Regions from separate parts of the Homo sapiens genome. Here region 2 is linked to region 1. The links are contacts of gene promoters, found by promoter capture Hi-C in human tissues and cell types (Jung and others, 2019). All regions are on one chromosome and are shown on one strand. Each heading gives the region's core, a stretch centred on a gene start or on the middle of the fragment in contact. The rest is flanking DNA. Distances are from core to core; before and after follow the strand shown. Region 1 holds the start of LRP12 (LDL receptor related protein 12). Region 2 has its middle 160 kb from the start of LRP12.

Region 1 (3,166 bases), core at 60-2,559:
TTAATTATCTTAAGAGATAGATGTTCTTTGCAATTAATTCCATTCAGCTCTTGCTCAGACCCCAACGCAATATAAAGCTGTCCGCACAGTCTTCAGCCTTCTCTTAACCCGAAAGGAGTTATCTCTAACCCGATCCATCGACTGGAATAAAGTAACAGTGACCACAGCGGCGGACGAGGATGGATGAAATTACAATTGAACTAGGAGTCAGGACAGATGTGTACACCCTAACAGGAGAGACTGAGGTGGGGCTGGAAACTATTTTCTGGCCTTCTCCCGCGTGCTGCTCCCGGGGAACCAACAGGACCCTGCACGCCCGGATTCGGCAGAGCCCTTGCCCCCGAGGTGGAGTGGGGAGAAGTCAGCGGGAAGCCTTTTCAGGGAATCGAGTAGGACAAGGGCTGGCGCGGTGGGAATCTCGCCGGTGAGAGAACTTCCTAACCCCGGGTTGAGGGGGCGGGGGGAAGGACCGTCCCGGCAGCGGCGGGGGCGAGCTCCTCTGCTTTCTCACAGTCAAGCATCTTTGTGTGTGGATTGTGCCAGGCTACGGGTCCTGGAGCAACTGGCCGCGGGGGCCCTCGAACCCAGGTCGGGAAGTCCGCCCGCCACCCCCTCGCTCCGCCGGGGCCCTCCCGGCCGGGCCCCCCAGCCCCTCTCCACCACCCGAGGGTCTGGAGGTGGACGAGTGGAGAAAAGCATCTCCGTGTGGGGACACCCGTTCCGCCACATCCACCCCCTCACCGGTCTTTGTCCCGCCGGTAGCCAGGGTCTCCGCGGGAGTCTCCAGGGGAACCCCCGTCCTGGAGGCCTCGGGGCCCGGGTCGCCTCAGCTTTGTTCGGTCAGCGGGGCGCGGGGACGCGGACACTTACCGTACACCCCAGCGAGGAAAAGCAAGAGCAACGCAGACCTCCACCGCGGAGACTCTTTTGTGCTCCAGCGACAGGCCATAACCACAGCAGATGGAGAGAGAGAGGAGGAGACGGAGGAGGAGGGAGGAGAAGCTGGAGGTAGACGACGCCGACGCCGCCGCCGCCGCCGCCGCCGCCGCCGAGCCACCGGCTGCTCCCTGCGCTCTCCGCGGCTGCGGGAGGGGGAAGGGAGGGGCCGCCGCCGCCCGCGCGCGCTCCCTCCTCCCTCCTCCCTCCGGCTCGCCTGCTCCCACCCCGGGCGGTGCGAGAGCCCCACGCGGGGCGGCCCTCCTGGGGGCAAGGGCAAGGAGCTCGCGCGCCAGCGCGAGACGAGAGGGTGGCGGACGCCGGACTCCGGCCTCGCGCCGCTCGGGCTAGCCGGCGCCGCCACTCGCCAGACTGAGCGCGCGCCCATCCGTGCGATCGGCAATCCCCTGGCCCGCCTGCCTCGGTTCCCTCCCCGCGCTCCGCTGGACTTTCCAAGTTTCGGGCCGATTTCCACGCGACGGGAGCCCAAGGAGCAAGGCAGCGCCAATCGATGACAGAGCGTGCGAACGCCGGCTGCTGGATGCCCAGGGGCTGGAGCGCGGGGTGTGTGGAGGAGCACGGTCGCTGTCCGAGGGCTGGGCTCTGGCCCAGCGGGTGGGGGGAGGGGGGGTGGGATACCAGCTGGGAGGCTGAAGGTGGTTCCGTGTTGGGGGAGGCGTGGATGGTCTGAAGCTGACAACTTGGGAGTTCCTTCCTCTATCCGGTACCCCCAAGTCTCCACTTGCTGTCGGCGCGGAGCTTCGAGTGGGGGTGGGCTCAAGTTAGTGCGGCCAACCTGGCAGCTGGTCGGTCAAGGGGCAGTGTGGACTCCCACGCTCAAGGTGCCCGGAATGAGTCGGGCAAGGCTTGTGCAGAGCCCCTCCAGTCTGGCGTGGAAGCGCCAAGAGGTCATTTGACATCTCACGCTGGGTCGGGTGCAGCTGGGCCAGGATGTTCGGCAGGGCTGGAGCCGACTTTCAGGGTAGATATATTGAAAGGAGGATTCGCCCATCACGCTGCAGTTTCCCTAAAGCTCTTTTCTCACTCCCAGCAAATGGGAGTCCTCCTTTACTTAGATCCCCAGAACACTTTTCTAAGTACGTCTGTAGTGACGCTGGCACATCAGACCTTACCCCCTGTGTTTTTAAAGCGTTTGTCTACAACGTCTTATTTATATTAGATTTTATCGTTGCCCTTTGCAAGCACTCTCCATGCTATTCATTGAAGACCTACACTGCATCATGCTGTCCTATTGACATAGGTTGTCACTTTTTAATCCCAAACATCCTTGTGAGATAAATATTACCCATGTTTTATAGAAAAGAGAGAAATTAAATTACTCATGGCAAGTAAGTTGTTTGAAACAGTTTTTCTCATTCCAAAGTAAAGATTGTTGCCCCTATACCACAGCAAACTCTCTAGCACAATGCTTAGCGCCTAGTAATGTGTCGGAGTTGGTGCCTGCCAGGGGGTTCGTGGTCTCCCTGACTTCAAGAATGAAGCTGCAGACCTTCCCGGTGACTGTTAACAGCTCTTAAAGATGGCACGGACTCAAAGAGTGAGCGGTAGCAAGGTTTATTGCGAAGAGCAAAAGGACAGCTTCCACAGCATGGAAGAGAACCCCAGGTGCTGGCTGGTGGTGGCCAGCTTTTATTCCCTTGTGGTCCCCTCCCATGTTCCATTTCTGTCCTATCGGAGTGCCCCTCTTTCAATCCTCCCTGCGATTGGCTACTTTTGGAATCCTGCTGATTGGTGCGTTTTACAGAGTGCTGATTGGTGCATTTTACAGAGCGCTGATTGGTGCATTTTACAATCCTCTTGTAAGACAGGAAAGTTCCTCAAGTCCCCACTGGACCCAGGAAGTTCAGCTGGCCTCACCTCTCAGTAAGTAAATGTTAAAATTTAAAACATACTTTCTGGGGAATACATTTAGGCTTTTCCTCAGTCTCCTGCCGATTTGCCCCCTTTTAAGTTTTTTTTTTTAAAACCAGGAAATGCTATTCCAAAAGATAAGAGAAAAATGTATTAATAAGTATTACAAAAATCTAATAATTAACAAATCTTATATCATCTGGTAAAAAAAGCAACCAGCACTCCAAAAATGTTTTCCATTCTTGTTGGAAAGAAGCAACTTCAGTGTTTTTCACTAAACAAATTGCAGTTGTCTTTCCTAATTTTGGGATTCTAAACTCTACTTTCTTGTTTCTTAAGATTGCTTTCTCTAAATTGC
Region 2 (3,242 bases), core at 282-2,781, 160 kb after region 1:
TTCTTTGTCTCTTTTGATCTTTGTTGGTTTAAAGTCTGTTTTATCAGAGACTAGGATTGCAACCCCTGCCTTTTTTTGTTTTCCATTGGCTTGGTAGATCTTCCTCCATCCTTTTATTTTGAGCCTATGTGTGTCTCTGCACGTGAGATGGGTTTCCTGAATACAGCACACTGATGGGTCTTGACTCTTTATCCAACTTGCCAGTCTGTGTCTTTTAATTGCAGAATTTAGTCCATTTATATTTAAAGTTAATATTGTTATGTGTGAATTTGATCCTGTCATTATGATGTTAGCTGGTGATTTTGCTCATTAGTTGATGCAGTTTCTTCCTAGTCTCGATGGTCTTTACATTTTGGCATGATTTTGCAGCGGCTGGTACCAGTTGTTCCTTTCCATGTTTAGCGCTTCCTTCAGGAGCTCTTTTAGGGCAGGCCTGGTGGTGACAAAATCTCTCAGCATTTGCTTGTCTATAAAGTATTTTATTTCTCCTTCACTTATGAAGCTTAGTTTGGCTGGATATGAAATTCTGGGTTGAAAATTCTTTTCTTTAAGAATGTTGAATATTGGCCCCCACTCTCTTCTGGCTTGTAGGATTTCTGCTGAGAGATCCGCTGTTAGTCTGATGGGCTTTCCTTTGAGGGTAACCCGAGCTTTCTCTCTGGCTGCCCTTAACATTTTTTCCTTCATTTCAACTTTGGTGAATCTGACAATTATGTGTCTTGGAGTTGCTCTTCTCGAGGAGTATCTTTGTGGCGTTCTCTGTATTTCCTGAATCTGAACGTTGGCCTGCCTTGCTAGATTGGGGAAGTTCTCCTGGATAATATCCTGCAGAGTGTTTTCCAACTTGGTTCCATTCTCCACATCACTTTCAGGTACACCAATCAGACGTAGATTTGGTCTTTTCACATAGTCCCATATTTCTTGGAGGCTTTGCTCATTTCTTTTTATTCTTTTTTCTCTAAACTTCCCTTCTCGCTTCATTTCATTCATTTCATCTTCCAATGCTGATACCCTTTCTTCCAGTTGATCGCATCGGCTCCTGAGGCTTCTGCATTCTTCACGTAGTTCTCGAGCCTTGGTTTTCAGCTCCATCAGCTCCTTTAAGCACTTCTCTGTATTGGTTATTCTAGTTATACATTCTTCTAAATTTTTTTCAAAGTTTTCAACTTCTTTGCCTTTGGTTTGAATGTCCTCCCGTAGCTCAGAGTAATTTGATCGTCTGAAGCCTTCTTCTCTCAGCTCGTCAAAATCATTCTCCATCCAGCTTTGTTCTGTTACTGGTGAGGAACTGCATTCCTTTGGAGGAGGAGAGGCACTCTGCATTTTAGAGTTTCCAGTTTTTCTGTTCTGTTTTTTCCCCATCTTTGTGGTTTTATCTACTTTTGGTCTTTGATGATGGTGATGTACAGATGGGTTTTCGGTGTAGATGTGCTTTCTGGTTGTTAGTTTTCCTTCTAACAGACAGGACCCTCAGCTGCAGGTCTGTTGGAATACCCTGCCGTGTGAGGTGTCAGTGTGCCCCTGCTGGGAGGTGCCTCCCAGTTAGGCTGCTCGGGGGTCAGGGACCCACTTGAGGAGGCAGTCTGCCCGTTCTCAGATCTCCAGCTGCGTGCTGGGAGAACCACTGCTCTCTTCAAAGCTGTCAGACAGGGACACTTAAGTCTGCAGAGGTTACTGCTGTCTTTTTGTTTGTCTGTGCCCTGCCCCCAGAGGTGGAGCCTACAGAGGCAGGCAGGCCTCCTTGAGCTGTGGTGGGCTCCACCCAGTTCGAGCTTCCCGGCTGCTTTGTTTACCTAAGCAAGCCTGGGCAATGGCGGGCGCCCCTCCCCCAGCCTCGCTGCCGCCTTGCAGTTTGATCTCAGACTGCTGTGCTAGCAATCAGCGAGATTCCGTGGGCGTAGGACCCTCTGAGCCAGGTGTGGGATATAGTCTCGTGGTACGCCGTTTCTTAAGCCGGTCTGAAAAGCGCAATATTCGGGTGGGAGTGACCCGATTTTCCAGGTGCGTCCGTCACCCCTTTCTTTGACTCGGAAAGGGAACTCCCTGACCCCTTGCGCTTCCCAGGTGAGGCAATGCCTCGCCCTGCTTTGGCTCGTGCACGGTGCGCACACACACTGGCCTGCGCCCACTGTCTGGCACTCCCTAGTGAGATGAACCCGGTACCTCAGATGGAAATGCAGAAATCACCCGTCTTCTGCGTCGCTCACGCTGGGAGCCGTAGACCGGAGCTGTTCCTATTCGGCCATCTTGGCTCCTCCTCCCTATTTTTTTATTTTTAGAGATGGAGCCTCACTCTGTCGCCTAGGCTGGAGTGCAGTGGTTCGTACAATCATAGCTCACTGCAGCCTCGAACTTCTGGGCTCAAGTGATCCTTCCAATGAGGCTACTATTTTGAGCAACGGCCTTCTTCCATCATTTTCAAGGTCAACAAACTTGACCATCCTAGAATTTTCTGGTCAGTAAGAAAAAATGTCCCAAGAGGGAGCTAGCATCTGTTAAGCTTCCACTAAGTGCCGGACAATACATGAGGAGCTGTATACATACATATGTGACCTATATTAATAGCTCTACAACACTTCTGTGCAACAAACATCATGTTTCTTTCTTTAAAAAAAAAAAAAAAATCTGATTATATATGGGTTGGTACAGGTCAGCCAGGATTGGTAAGAAATTCAATTTCCATTCTTGCTGGGGAGGACTAGGCCTCTTCCCTTCCCTTAGGAAAGCACTGTAACCTCAGGATTGACACGATCCAGGAAAGAATCCCTGGGCTTTGATCCATTATTATTTATTAAGATGCTTATATTCTGTGCCTTCTCCCTTTGTCAGCTAGTGCCCGGGACATTTCCCAGCCCTCTCAGTCTCGAAGTGTTCAGTGTTAAATCCCCACCTGTGCATTAGGCACCTCCATTAGGCCTTCTGTCATCTTTTGGTTGTGAGCATTAGGGAGGACGGAAAGTCTTATGGCCTGGGGCCTCTTGTGGAAGGTGAATATCCATATTGACTCTTTCTCTGCAAGGGCCCCTACAGGGACTTCTTGGGGATAGCCCCCTTCTAGATTAGACTGCCAAAGGCCCCTTTGGCCAACCCCAGATTCTCTCCATCTAGACTTCCCATGTATAAATGAAGTCTCCGCATCCTTCAGACTCCAAGGAATATGAATCTTGCCCCCCAAATGATTCTTCTAAAGACTCCTCATCTGGCTTAACAGAGGGAGGTAGGATCACCTCCTTTCCCTCTGC

What was found. Contacts are between HindIII fragments. The study calls those that stand out against the background at their distance.
Region 2: a contact is called between a fragment that was not itself captured here and the fragment with the promoter of LRP12 in region 1, in 1 of the 25 tissues and cell types used here (dorsolateral prefrontal cortex).

The regions. Positions count from the first base shown.
Region 1 is chr8:104,587,949-104,591,114 of GRCh38, forward strand. LRP12 (LDL receptor related protein 12) reads right to left here and starts at 1,310. Exons shown (of 7, transcript NM_013437.5): 1 at 871-1,310. The coding sequence starts at 949. RefSeq lists silencers at 469-578, 1,009-1,348. The HindIII fragment of the contact is 16,882 bases long and covers 1-3,166 here.
Region 2 is chr8:104,743,613-104,746,854 of GRCh38, forward strand. No RefSeq gene overlaps it. Among named protein-coding and RNA genes, the nearest start is that of LRP12, 160 kb to the left of the region's middle. The HindIII fragment of the contact is 3,950 bases long and covers 1-3,242 here.